Linked DNA regions of Homo sapiens: all the other regions are linked to region 1. Evidence: promoter capture Hi-C in 16 types of primary human blood cells and fetal thymus (Javierre and others, 2016). All regions are on one chromosome and are shown on one strand. The core of a region is centred on a gene start or on the middle of the fragment in contact, and the rest is flanking DNA. Distances in the headings are between cores, read along the strand shown.

What was found. Contacts are between HindIII fragments. The CHiCAGO score rates a contact against its expected background, and 5 or more counts as called.
Region 2: a contact is called between the fragment with the promoter of SNX6 here and the fragment with the promoter of RALGAPA1 in region 1, in 9 of 17 cell types (naive B cells, naive CD8 T cells, total CD8 T cells and 6 more). The highest score is 16.9, in naive B cells.
Region 3: a fragment that was not itself captured here is called in contact with the fragment with the promoter of RALGAPA1 in region 1 in 1 of 17 cell types (total B cells); the score reaches 5.3 in total B cells.
Region 4: a contact is called between the fragment with the promoter of CFL2 here and the fragment with the promoter of RALGAPA1 in region 1, in 6 of 17 cell types (total B cells, total CD8 T cells, fetal thymus and 3 more). The highest score is 9.8, in total B cells.
Region 5: a fragment that was not itself captured here is called in contact with the fragment with the promoter of RALGAPA1 in region 1 in 8 of 17 cell types (naive CD4 T cells, fetal thymus, total B cells and 5 more); the score reaches 13.7 in naive CD4 T cells.

The regions. Positions count from the first base shown.
Region 1 is chr14:35,807,923-35,810,737 of GRCh38, reverse strand. RALGAPA1 (Ral GTPase activating protein catalytic subunit alpha 1) reads left to right here and starts at 1,443. Exons shown (of 42, transcript NM_001346249.2): 1 at 1,443-2,008. The coding sequence starts at 1,903. RefSeq lists enhancers at 1,297-1,396, 1,233-1,793 and a silencer at 1,477-1,716. The HindIII fragment of the contact is 1,366 bases long and covers 127-1,492 here.
Region 2 is chr14:34,628,788-34,631,487 of GRCh38, reverse strand. SNX6 (sorting nexin 6) reads left to right here and starts at 1,340. Exons shown (of 14, transcript NM_152233.4): 1 at 1,340-1,377; 2 at 1,534-1,581. The coding sequence starts at 1,372. RefSeq lists an enhancer at 1,017-1,066 and a silencer at 1,237-1,586. The HindIII fragment of the contact is 3,459 bases long and covers 894-2,700 here.
Region 3 is chr14:34,454,928-34,457,627 of GRCh38, reverse strand. The region is part of intron 1 of SPTSSA (serine palmitoyltransferase small subunit A); the gene reads left to right. Among named protein-coding and RNA genes, the nearest start is that of SPTSSA, 6.0 kb to the left of the region's middle. The HindIII fragment of the contact is 7,519 bases long and covers 1-2,700 here.
Region 4 is chr14:34,713,307-34,716,006 of GRCh38, reverse strand. CFL2 (cofilin 2) reads left to right here and starts at 1,414. Exons shown (of 4, transcript NM_138638.5): 1 at 1,414-1,469; 2 at 2,446-2,700. The coding sequence starts at 1,467. RefSeq lists silencers at 978-1,567, 1,658-1,717. The HindIII fragment of the contact is 2,283 bases long and covers 1-1,927 here.
Region 5 is chr14:34,537,022-34,539,721 of GRCh38, reverse strand. EAPP (E2F associated phosphoprotein) reads left to right here and starts at 21. Exons shown (of 6, transcript NM_018453.4): 1 at 21-167. The coding sequence starts at 94. RefSeq lists enhancers at 84-243, 1-818 and a silencer at 1,885-2,179. The HindIII fragment of the contact is 679 bases long and covers 974-1,652 here.

The DNA.
Region 1 (2,815 bases), core at 194-2,693:
TAAATTTCACGAAACTGTGAGGGACAGACCTTATTTTGATTTTATTAATAAGAAAACTGATGCTGAGAGGAACTAGAACTAAAATCTCTTGAACAATCCCCTTATTTTTCTATTATGTTATAAGCTTCCTCAAAACATGTATGGCTTGTAAGTTTGATGATACAAACAAACCCTACATGTAGAAACTGAATAAATTTTTTGTACTTTAAAAAATATAGGATTGTTGTTGAAACAAACTACCATTAAGCAAAGCACTATATTTTAACATAATTTTGGCAAATGTCTTACATCTCTCTTCTTTGCTGATTTTGTTATTTTTCTATGTTAATCACATATTTCATTGGACAAGTCTATTGCTATGGGTGAGAACATAGAAGGAAACAGTTCAAACAAGCAAACTCACTCTTTATCAAATTATTTTGTGGAGGAAATGTTCCTGGCCAGGCGCAGTGGCCTCACGCCTGTAATCCCAGCAGTTTGGTAGGCTGAGGCGGGCGGATCACTTGAGTCTAGGAGTTTTAGACCAGTTTGGGCAAAATGGCGAAACCCCGTCTCTACAAAAAACACAAAAATTAGCTGGATGTGGTGGCGCGCACCTGTGGTCCCAGCTACTCGGTAGGCTGAGGTGGGAGCATCACCTGAGCCTGGGAGTTCGAGGCTTCAGTGAGCTGAGATCACACCACTGCACTTCTGCCTGGGACACAGAGACCCTGTCTGGAAAGAAAAGGAAAAAGGAAAAAAAAAAAAAGGGTTCCAATAAAAATTTCAATTTATGTCATTCAGAATTTCACGGATTTTTTTCAGCTATTGCAGATTCTTCAGATGACTCCATCAATGTAATAAGAACCTTGAATTCTTCTTTGCAGAGGAAAAACTGACAATATATTCATCTTTATGTGGGGTGCAGATGGGGAAAAGATTTTTAAAAGCACAATAGAAAAGGAAAGCAAGATTACTTTTATTTAAAAAACCTAGATACCTCTGCTTAAGCCTTTCTGTTGTCAAGTTGTTTGCAGCAAAAAACAGGGATATTGCAAATAGAAAAAATATGAAAGAAATCACATACATAGTGCAGGAAATATTATTAGTAATAGATTTAGGACAGAATAAATTGCCCAACTGTAACTTCGTTTATCTTTCTGCTAGAGGATCTGGTGGCCACAACAACTTATGCACATTTTCAAAGATAAATCATGGACATATTTAATAAAGATTACTTCTCTTTGCTTATTACTATCATTTGGCTTACAATGGAGCACGCAGTAACTACCTTCCTTGCCTTTCTTGAGATTCTCCTTTGGCTGCTTACACAGGAAACCAAGGCGGGGAGTGCCACGGGTGATCTCATGCTGGCATGACGTCAAGAACTCTTGACGTCAGAAGGCGGTTGCCACGGACACCGTTCGCCACCGACGGCAGAGTCGTGAAACCCCATCACTACCACACTCGTCTCCGTTTCGGCCTCTGCAGGGTGTAAGCTGCTAAAGAAGCTTCAACCTTAAGGGGGCCTCAGGGAGAGAGTTGTGCTCCTGCCGCCGAGAGCTCCACCTTCGTGGCTCTGGGTCCGGGGCCCCGGCCTGTGGCGGCGAGCGGCGGCCGCTGGAGACGAGCGGCGGCGGCAGGCGGCCAGCCCGGGTCTGCCTCGCTCCGTGCAGGGCCGGGAGAGGGATCCGCCATATTGGAGCTGGGGCCGAAGGTGCCTTGGAGCCGCGGCGCGAGGCGGGTGGAGGTGGCGGCCCTGGCCTGGATCGGGAAGGAGTCGGCTCTGCCCTGGCCCGCAAGGCTGGGGAGCTAATGAGCCTCTCTGGCTAGTCTCCTCCCCGTCCACTCCCTCCACTTTCTGCCGCCGGGACCCGGCTGGGAGCCGGCTGTGGCAGTGGCAGTGGCAGTGGCAGCGACAGGATGTTCTCCAAGAAGCCGCACGGGGACGTGAAGAAGTCCACCCAGAAGGTGCTAGACACCAAGAAGGACGCACTGACTCGCCTCAAGCACCTGCGCATCGTCATCGGTGAGGAGCGAGGGGTGGCAGCGCCGAGGCCTGGGTTGCCCGGCCTTCCCTCTCCTGGGAGCCCCTGCGGACTCTCTCTCGGGACCTGGCGCGGTGCAGGAGAGGGCAAATCGTAGCCTCTGCGGAGACGCGGGAGGGTGAATAATTCGGAGAAGCGAAAACTTGGCAGTTGGCAGCACTGATTACTGTTAACACAGTAATCTAATTTTGAGTTAATAGTCTGAACTTATTTTTTAAAATTGGTATTACTCTAAAAACTTAGATCTTTAAGACTTTGTGGGGAGACCTGGCGTTGTGGATAATGGTGTTTATAGGATATGTTTGCCAGATGACTACTGCCAACCCCACCCAAGTAAAAAGAAAAATAAAATCCTCTCTCAGACAATATAAACCTTAATCTTTCAAGTTTCTTGGCAGATGAAGACAAGGAGGTAGCAGTTACACCTCTTTGGGAAGTGGGCGGTTCCCAAAAAGCTGTGGGAAGGAGCCCCGCCCTTTTGTTAATGCACCTTGTTCATCACTAGTCATTTAGAGGGAGAACTATTATAGGTAGTTTAACTCATCCTTTGCTTCTCGAGAATTGTATATAATTCTATTTTTAATTAAAAATATTTTTTTTATCGTCTGCCCTTAAGTTCTGTTTTGCTGGTAGACCAAACAGTGCTCTAAGTTTTGAATATAATGTTAATCGACTCTTTTGAATACTTAGTCATTTGGTAGGCTGATAAAGGCTGTAATAATACTTATGGAACATCTGGTCCAGTAGTTGGATTTTTTAGATGAAGACATTTGAGATGAAAAGGAAAA
Region 2 (2,700 bases), core at 91-2,590, 1.2 Mb after region 1:
ACCTTCCTGGCTAACATGGTGAAATCCTGTCCTACTAAAAATACAAAAAAATTAGCCGGGTGTGGTGGCACACACCTGTAGTCCCAGCTACTCGGGAGGCTGAGGCAGGAGAATGGCGTGAACCCTGGAGGTGGAGCTTACAGTGAGCCGAGATCGCACCACTGCACTCCAGCCTGGGCGACAGAGCGAGACTCTGTCTCAAAAAAAAAAAAAAAAGAGGTATGAAGGACAATCAATTGTAGAAGCCATAGGATTTGGTTGGATATGAGGAGTAAGGGAGATAAGGATTTATTTCTTTCTTTTTTTGAGACAGAGTCTTGCTCTGTTGCCCAGGCTGGAGTGCAGTGGTGCAATCTCGGCTCACTGCAACCTCTGCCTTCCAGGTTCAAGCGATTCTTTTGCTTCAGCCTCCCAAGTAGCTGAGATTACAGGCACGCGCCACCACGCCCGGCTAATTTTTGTATTTTTAGTAGAGACGGGGTTTCACCATGTTAGCCAGGATGGTCTCAAACTCCTGACCTCAGGTGATCCGCCCGCCTTGGCCTCCCAAAGTGCTGGAATTAGAGACGTGAGCCACAGCGCCCGGCCCCTAGAGTACGGATTTCAATGGGTTAAGGGTTTCTGGTCTGAACATCTGAAGATGCCTTTCCTTAACTGAATGCAAGCTCAGGAACGTGTAGATTCTAGGATTAAGTATGATTTTCTCCCGTTATTTGAAATGCCTGTGGATCCCGTGTGATGCTAACCACCTGGACAGTTAGAGTAGGTGTGGGGAAATTTCTTCTAACAAAGGAAAGGAATATTTTTGTAATGAAAACAGCTCATTTTTATAGTTCGCAACCATTAGTGCCCCAAACTCTGAGGTAGTTATTACCTCGCCAGCGGTAAAAGCTTGATTATAGTCCCTGATTACCGACTGTGTGAAGGTCCTTGTTTCCAGCAACTTCCATAGGCAAAATGATATTAATTGTGATTAATTATCGTGTGGCATAATACAAAGACCAGATGATGTATTATGGCTTCCGGAGGGCGCCTGCATCGTTTTTCGCTGGAGCCCTCGGGGCAGGGGAACTGGAGAGCTCCCTGGGTGGCCTTTGGCCCTTCCCTGGTCAGAGCCCGCCAGCTGCGAGGTGCCCCCAGCCATGAGGTCTGGGTCTTCAGGCTCTCCCGACTTCGGTGCCTTGACCTTGGGCAGAAGGCCCTGTTAACCTTCCTCGCTCACGGACTCGAGCGACCAGCGCCGGGGACGGGGCGGGCCGTCCTTAGGCCCCGCCCCTTCGCCTCCGCCCCGCCCCGCCCCGCTCCTGGCCGCCGGCTCCCTCCGGCAGCAGGGAGATGCGCGCCTGCGCCGGCCCTCGCCTCGGAGCAGCCATGATGGTGGGTGTTCTCCGCGGCGCCGAGTCCCGGGAGCGCGGTGGGGGCAGCGGGCGCGGGGCGGGCGCGGGGACCGCGCCAGCCTGTCACTAATGTCTCCCTTTGTGTCTCCCCCATCTCATCCTTTTCCCCGGCGCGCCGTGCCCGCCGACCCCACAGGAAGGCCTGGACGACGGCCCGGACTTCCTCTCAGAAGAGGACCGCGGAGTAAGTTCTGCCTTCCTTTCGCTCGCGGGACCCTGGACCCTCCTTCCCCATCCTGGGTCCCCGGGTGTGGTACGGGGATGGGTCCCCAGCCGCGCGGCACTCCCTCCCCGTAGTCCTCCTTTCGGTTTCCTCGCTGCACCGCGCCCCACCCTCCCGCAGCCCTTCCTCCCTAGGGGCCGCTCGGCTCCGATTCCCGGGGACCCGCGGCCGCTTTCTTGTCCCCCGCCGCTGTTCGGGCCTTCTGGTGGACCTCCACTCCCACGCGGGGCGGGGTGCAGGTGGCGAAGTGGAAATGGAGGCGGGAGATGGAACGCCCCCACCCTCCCTCGACACTTTGGGGCCATGAAAACCCATTCTCGGACCTTCCCAGCGGCACCCTCAATTTTCACCCGGTGTGGACATCTCGAACTTGCTCCCGCCCACCCTTCTGTCTCTCTCAAATAGTACAGGTGTAGTCTACATTACCATTTTGCAAGGATTTTTATAGTAGCCGAATCAACTCCTGTCCAGTGCCCTACTAGATTATGCAAAGTGCAGGTAGCCCATGGTATCTTTACTTTTTCTAATATCCAACAAATCCTGTCTTTGGCAGGATTTCCTTGGTGTTTTATTCCCCCTTAGCTTCTTTGAGGTATATTGACAAATACTGTTGATAATTGTATATACTTAAGGTATACATTATATTTTAATACACGAATACATTGTGAAATGAGTACCAAAATCAACCTGACATATCCATCACCTCACCTAGTTACCATTTTTTTTTGTGTGAGAACATTTGAGATCTAAGCAAATTTCAAGTATGTACCCTTTGACCAACATCGACGCTCCACCCACTCACCCCCCACATACACACTCCGCCAGGCCTTTGATAACCTCCATTCTGCCCTTGGTGTTCTGAGGTTAGTTGCATTCTACTTCAGAAAGAGCCTTCCGGGCTCTGATTCCTCCCTCCCACCCCACTCTCCACCCCCTTTTTCCTTGGCTGAAGGGTGGTAATCTTTATAGTCCCTTGTACAAGTGAGCACTTGGAAAATGTTGATATATGATAATTACCATTCAGCAAGGTTCCATGGTTCCTTCACATTTCACAGCCTGCACTTCAGTTTTCCCTTTTGC
Region 3 (2,700 bases), core at 147-2,646, 1.4 Mb after region 1:
GAATATTTGAACTTTTTCCATGTGCAGACATGTTTCTATCTTACAGAGAAATGGGACATGACACCTGCATTAAGACAAAAGGTAACAATAAAGAAGAATCTGATAAGTGCCAATTAGTATTACAGTATATACTACAAAAGGAGACCTACCATAGACTGAGAACCACTGACCTTATCTCAGGAGGAGACATTTTTAACATACCTTTCAAAAGTATCCTTTCCCTACTGGCATCCCAAGGTGGGAAAGAAAAGACCAGGTTTTGTAACCAAGATAGGCTTTTGTAACAGTGAGACACGCCCTGAAGTACCTCACTTGGATAACGTTGTAACCATTCCTGTTGAGAGTTGAGAAAATTAAAAATAGATTGTTAAAATAATTTGAATCAACTTTGGGAGGCTGAGGTGGCTGGATCACCTGAGGTCAAGAGTTCAAGGCCAGCTCGGCCAGCATGGTGAATTCTTGTCTCTACTAAAAATAAAAAATTAGTGGGGCATGGTGGCTGGCGCCTGTAGTCCCAGCTACATGGGAGGCTGAGGCAGGAGAATTGCTTGAACCTAAGAAGTGGAGGTTGCAGTGAGCCAAGATTGTGCCATTGTACTCCAGCCTGGGCAACAGAGCAAATGCTCCGTCTCAAAATAATAATAATAATAATAGTAATAATAATAATAATAATAATAATTTGAATCAGAAGTGTGCTATTTTAATCTTTTTTCTTTTCTTTTTTTTTTTGAGATGGAGTCTCGCTGTGTTGCCCAGGCTGGAGTGCAGTGGCGCGATCTTGGCTCGCTGCAACCTCTGCCTCCTGGATTCAAGCAATTGTTCCGCCTTGCCCTCCCGAGTAGCTGGGACTACAGGTGTGTGCCACCACGCCCGGCTAATTTTTATATTTTTTAGTAGAGACAAGATTTCACCATGTTGGCCAGGCTGGTCTTGAACTTCTGTCCTCAGGTGATCTGCCTGCCTCAGCCTCCCAAAGTGCTGGGATTACAGGCATGAGCTACCGCGCCTGGCCTAATCTTGTTTTATTCATTAAAAAATAAAGTCATATTAGTCTATAATCACTGGGCTATATTTGCCCATCTCTTTGCTGCTGATGATGTTTCCATGGCATGTTATTTTCAGCAAAATGTGGGCAGTTTTTTGGTTTATGTTAGGAATTAGATTCACCCTGAAAGACAGTTCATGTGTCTTGAAAACATTTTTTTCCCACTTTTAAACCACAGTGCTGGGCACACAAATAATGCTTAAAAAACAGTTGTTTATATATTGATTTGTTATTTTATTTTATTGATTTATTATTTTTTTGAGATAGGGTTTTGCACTTGTTGCCCAGGCTGGAGTGCAATGACGCGATCTCAGCTCACTGCAATCTCTGCCTCCAGGGTTCAAGTGATACTTCTGCCTCAGCCTCCCAAGTAGCTGGGATAACAGGCACCCACCACCACGCCTGGCTAATTTTTTGTTTTTTTAGTAGAGACGGGGTTTCACCATGTTAGCCGGATGGTCTCGATCTCCTGACCTCGTGATCCGCCTGCCTCCGCCTCCCAAAGTGCTGGGATTATAGGTGTGAGCCACCGCGCCCAGCCACACATTTTAAGCTGTATGTTATTTTCAGTAGCAACTAAATTATTTTCTTAGATTTTTGCTGTATCCTCAGATACTTACAACTTAGAATTAAAAAGGACTTTTTTTTTTTGAGATGGAGTCTTGTTCTGTTGCCCAGGCTGGAGTACACTGGCATGATCTCAGCTCACTGCAACCTCTGCCTCCTGGGTTCAAGCAATCCTCATTCCTCAGCCTCCTGAATAGCTAGGATTACAGTTGCACGCCACCATGCCCAGGTAATTTTTGTATTTTTAGTGGAGACGGGGTTTCACCATGTTGGCCAGGCTGTTCTTGAACTCCTGACCTCACGTGATCCTCTCCCCTCAGCTTCCCAAAGTGCTGGGATTACAGGTGTGAGCCACCGCGCCTGGCCTAAAAGGACTTTTTTTGCATCTCAATATACTAATTAAAGTATTTGGGAGTTTGGAAAATATGAATTTTAAGTTGTAAATAAAATAGATTATACATCCTTATGGTTGAAAACACAAAAGATACAAAAAGGTAGTTGGTGACACAGTCTTCCTTCCACCCCTGCCTCGGCCACCCTGGGACAACCAGTGTCAGCAGTTTCCTATGCATCTCTCCTGAGATATTCTGTGAATATATAAAAAATATACTCCTTTTTTTTTTCTTTTTTTGAGACAGTTTCGCTCTTTTCCTCAGGCTAGAGTGCAGTGGTGCGAACTTGGCTCCTTGCAACCTTTGCCTTCTGGTTGCAAGCGATTCTCTTGCATCAGCCTCCCCAGTAGCTGGGATTACAGGTGCCCGCCGCCATACCCTGTTGATTTTTTGTATTTTTAGTAGAGATGGGGTTTCACCATGTTAGCCAGGGTGGTCTCAAACTCCCAACCTCGTGATCCGCCCACCTCGGCCTCCCAAAATGCTGGGATTACAGGTGTGAGCCACCTAGCCCGGCTCCTATTTTTTTTTTTTCTCAAGATGGAGTCTTGATCTGTTACCTAGGCTGGAGTGCAGTGGCGCAATCTTGGGTCACTGTAGCCTCCGCCTCCTGGGTTCAAGCAATTCTCCTGCCTCAGCCTCACGAGTAGCTGGGATTACAGGTGCCTGCCACCACACCCGGCTGATTTTTGTATT
Region 4 (2,700 bases), core at 165-2,664, 1.1 Mb after region 1:
TAGGCCCCAGTGTCATCAGACCTGGTCTCTGCTGGGGCTGCTGCAAATCTCTGAGGTTGGGAAGGGAAGGTAACCGCAAGATGAAGCGAACAGGAATTTGCTAATACCTACACATAGCAGATGATCAGAGCTCTGGAGAGACATTCTCCATGACTTCTTGGAAGTTCAACAGATAAAGTGAAAGGTTCCATAAATTGTAATGTACCAGCTAGATATAAAGTATTATCCACTTGCTTGGGATTCATGCTTAGACATTGGGAAATCCCTTCTCAATTTTTGTCTCTAAACGAAGTCTATCTTCCAATTAAGAAAACAAACCCAAGATATAGACAGAAAAATAGGTCTGTTTCAATGCCTAGCATGTTCCATTTAAAATACAGTAAATTTGGGCTGAAAGAACTTATCACGCAATCTAGGGCAAACACCATCTCATGACTTTCCTGCCTAACCTCAATCCTGAGACCACCAAAAACACACCATTTCCTACTGAACATTGATATACTCAGAAACTGAAATCTAAAGCTGGAAAGGGCCTTAACGATAATTTAATAACAGTTTGTTTTACACATGAAGAACCCTGAGGTATGGAGGAGTTAAGATTAAAAAAAGAGAAACTGCCTTGGCGCAGTTATATGGGCTTTGCTAGAAGAGGCTGCGTCGGCTTATTTGATATCAGCTGTCATAGCTGGAGCTTCATGAAATCTCTAAGAGAGAGTACAATCCATTTCCTATGAAGTCTAAAATGTAAAAGGATATTACTAAGGAATGCTACCACGTAATTTTTTAATCATAATTATTATTTCAACCAGAGTTTTGAAAAGTGATTTACCAACACTGCGTATCATTTTGTTTTTGCTAAGTACTATCAACTGGAGCAATCTCGTGTAGTATTTATTCTCATTTATCTCTAAACAACTGGGGGTTTTCCAAAAAGACTCAAAATGTCGAAATCCAGCCTCTTTCGGGAAAACCACAGGTAAATAAGGAAAGACACCTTCGCAGGAGTTCCCCTCACACGCACCCACCCCTGGCGCAGGGCCCTACGGAGGCGGTGGAAACGCCCCTCTGGGAGCCCAGCACTCTCTCCCACCGGCTTGACGGGTGATGCTCGGGGGCTGGAGGCGGCTCTGCCAGGCTCCCGGGCTCCGCTACCACCGCGTCGCCCCCCCCGGCCTGCAGGGCTCGCGCTCTGAGGTCAGGCCGAGGACGCGGACAGCCGGGGAGCCGGGGCCGCGAGACAGAAGGGCCGGCCTGGGAGCGGGTGGCGCCGGCTGGGGACCAGGCGTGCCCACGTGACCGCCCCGCCCGCTGCCTGCGGCCCGCCGAGCCCCGCCACCTCCCTCGGGCTGCAGCTCCCGGCGTGCCCCGCACTCTCCGCTGCCCACCCGCTCGCCCGCCCCTCCTTCTCCTCCCAGTGCCACAGAGCCGAAGCCCGAGCTGCCGCCGCAGCCACAGCCGAGGGCACTATGGTAAGACGAGCGCGCTGGCCGGGAGGCCGCGGCGAGGCGAGAAAAGCCCCCCGCACGGCCCCGGGAGTGAGGCCGCCATTTTAACCTGATTTTGGCCTCCAAGGTGGGCGCTTCTGCTCTGCGGCTCCGCTGCTCTCCAGCCGACCGGCCTGCCCTCCGGCCGTCAGGCCCTGCCCTGCTGCTCTTTGGATTTTGGGGGGCGGGGAGGGCCCGGGCGTCGGCGCAGGTTGGGGGTCGGGGCCGGGCGGGCGGGGGCGCGAGAGGGTCTGCGGACTGCAGCCGCTCGCGCCGCCTTTGCCCTTCGCTTCCTAATTTTACTTAACACGCGAGGCTTTAAAATTGGTACGTGCTGCGAACGCTGTGTGGGTCAGGGTCTGGACGGCCTGTAATAAAACCCTTACGGGGAGATTAAGGAAGAGGGAAAACACTTTTTAAAATGCTTTCTCGCCGTAAAAGCTTTTACACTCGATCAGTTAGTTTTGGAGTGTCTGCATGTGAGCTGTGTGTGGGCCGTGGGCGGTTTGGAGTTTACACTTGATTCTCTTTCCTTATGAGGAAACGTCAGTGGCTAGGATGACTTTAAAGAAAAAAATAGTAGAAGCATTAACTGAAATCCAAAAGTGTTTTTTTAAGGCCAGCCGAGTTGACACAATACAGAAGGTATTTTTGCTGCCACTCCTGAAGCTCTGACATCACCCAGTGAAATAGGAAACATTTCAGGGATGGGACAACTTGTATTTGTCCCTTTCGCTTCCACGTCCAAACCCCTTTAAGAAGGATGAATGGGCAGGATGAGTTAGACTCCTTCGCTGTATCGTCTACTGATTCTTAAAATGTGACAAATCTGATTGGACGACTTACATGGTACGGTGCAATTTTTGATGTCCAGACTAAAGTGAGTCTTCTCTAGGCAAACAGTAATTTTGGTTAAAACCAAAATACGTGTTCTGAATTACTGTTCTGTGTTTATTTTCAGGCTTCTGGAGTTACAGTGAATGATGAAGTCATCAAAGTTTTTAATGATATGAAAGTAAGGAAATCTTCTACACAAGAGGAGATCAAAAAGAGAAAGAAAGCAGTTCTCTTCTGTTTAAGCGATGACAAAAGACAAATAATTGTAGAGGAAGCAAAGCAGATCTTGGTGGGTGACATTGGTGATACTGTAGAGGACCCCTACACATCTTTTGTGAAGTTGCTACCTCTGAATGATTGCCGATATGCTTTGTACGAT
Region 5 (2,700 bases), core at 64-2,563, 1.3 Mb after region 1:
AGTGGCGTCAGGGGCGCTTTAGGGACTGGACTTGCAGTGTAAACAGAGACGCTGCAAATTGCTTGTGGACGGTGTAGGCCGCTGCAGGCCACCATGAACCGGCTTCCGGATGACTACGACCCCTACGCGGTTGAAGAGCCTAGCGACGAGGAGCCGGCTTTGAGCAGGTGGGCTCCCGCCCCACCCTGGCCCCCGAGGATTTGGGTCGAGGCCTGGCTTTGGTCGCCTCCATTCGTTGCGCCTGCCGAGCCTACGCAGACCCTAGCGGCTCGGGAGCCTGTCGTGCCTGTTACTTGTGCGAAGCCAAAGGGCTTTCCTGATGGGGTCGCGCAGTCCCGGGGGGAGGCGGTGCCGATGTCGCCTGTAGGAAGAGGGATATTCCGGAATCACGGGGGACCGCGTGTAAATCTTCAAAAGCAATGAGATCGAAACCTGTCTCTACACCTTAGTAGCAGAGTGACGGAAGGCAAGTCAGTTATCCTCGATTACTCACCTGTAAAATTGAACTATAATAACATAATTGTATAACCTATATAACATAGTATAACACACTATGTTTGTTGTGAGGCTCACAGGACTTAATGTGAAGTGTCCATCTTGAAGACTAAACTGCCATAAACAGAAATAAGGGAATATTGAACAGCCTTTTTTATTTTTATTTTTTGACAGGGACTGTTGTATGCTCGCTCTGAGCTACAGAGATAAATCATAAGGTCCTTGTCTTCCAGAGGCTTATAGTATAATAAGGGTAATAAGATAAAGTATATATTTCTTGGCAGAGCATTGTAGAGAATATTGACCTGAGATAGGCACAGAAGAAGGTTCGTGGGATTTCCAGAAGGGTGGGCTTTATTCTACCAGGGAAACTTGAAGCTGTTTTGCCGAGATATTTCCACACAAATTTAGTTATTTCTTAAGCTGTCAGCAGATCCTATTCTTAAACTTTAAAACATTCATTCTGCCTAAAGAAGCTTTCTGTAAAGCCATGCTTTCATTAACAACTTTGGCTGGGTGTGGTGGCCCATGCCTGTAATCCCAGGACTTTGGGAGTCTGAGGCGAGAGAATCTCTTAAGCCTGGTAGTAAAGGAACAGCCTGGGCAACATAGTGAGACCTCATTTCTTAAAAAAAAAAAAAATCAAAAGAACAATGTTTCCTCATATTGTCATGGGGAGACATTGGATGCATGGGAAATCAGACTGCTGTTAAGATTTCTTTTGTTGGGAGTGAGGATAGATACCAGGATTCCCTGTGAAAAAGAGTTTCAGTTAATGGGTCCTGTCTGTGAAAGGAGGTATGTATATATGTATGTCTCAATTATTTATTTATTTATTTATTTATTTTGAGACAGAGTCTCACTCTGTCAGCCAGGCTGGAGTGCACTGGTGCAATCTTGGCTCACTGTAGCCTCCACCTCCTGGGTTCCAGCAATTCTCCTGCCTCAGCCTCCTGGGTAGCTGGGATTACAGGCATGCGCTACCACACCTGGCTTATTTTTTGTATTTTTCGTAGAGATGGGTTTTCACCACGTTGGCCAGGCTGGTCTTGAACTCCTGACCTTAGGCAATCTGCCTGCGTCGGGCTCCCAAAGTGCTAGGATTACAGGCCTGAGCCACGGAGCCAGGACTGTTGTATCATTTTTTTAAGGAAGCTTTATAATTCTGTGACAGTTGCCACTGGTAAGGTAACTGTAAAGATAAATATTATAAAAACAAAACAATGTTATCAGACAGTATTGCCTGTTGTAGGCTCTGAGCCAAATGGTTATTATTTTAAAAAGGGAGATTAGTGTTAGAGAGGTGTCTGTCAGTATTTAATTTTACACTGTTTATAAACTAATACATTGTAGCCTGTTAACTGTTTCACGGTAGCTGACCGAAGACATGAGACTCCTGGGTCAAAGATAAGACTACACATAGCACAGCAAGCAGCATGAGCATCATGTTTGTGTGGCTTGCTCTTGCTTGTCAACCCTACAGGTATTACGCTGAGGGTCCTAGAAGAATGCTGCACATTCAGTGGGTTGGCATCGTGGCTAAAGACTACTTGAGCTTGGAGAATCCACCTCTTTCATAGAAGACAGTAAATACATCTGCTCTTTGTCCTGGAAGGAGACATTATCTCATTCCTCAAGGTTGTTGTTCGCTGCAAACACAATCCTGAGAAATGGCTGGAGTGAACAGTGGTCAGAACCTTGCATTCTTGGCATACTTAACTTGCATATCTAGGGTCCATGATGTATGACTGCCTTTCTCAGCAGTGCTGAAAACTGAGACTTTGGTTGAGATAATGACAAGGATTGAAGAAAATTTGTAGAAAAAATAGCTCTCACTTTGTGATTCAGTTTTTAAAAATTAAACATTTTATTTTGAAGTTTTCGTAGATTCACATTCAGTTATAAGAAATAATACAGGTCTGGTGCAGTGGCTCACATCTGTAATCCCAGCACTTTGGAAGGCCAAGGCAGGAGAATCACTTGAGCTCAAGAGTTCAAGACCAGCCTGAGCAACATGATGAAATCATGTCTTTACTGAAAATACAAAAAATTAGCTGGTATGGTGGTGCATATCTGTGGTCCCAGCTACTCAGGAGGGTGAGGCGGTTGGTTGGCTTGAGCCTGGGAGGCGGAAGTTTCAGTGAGCCAAGATGGCACCATTGCACTCCAGCCTGGGCAACACAGGGAGACCCCCATCTCAAAAAA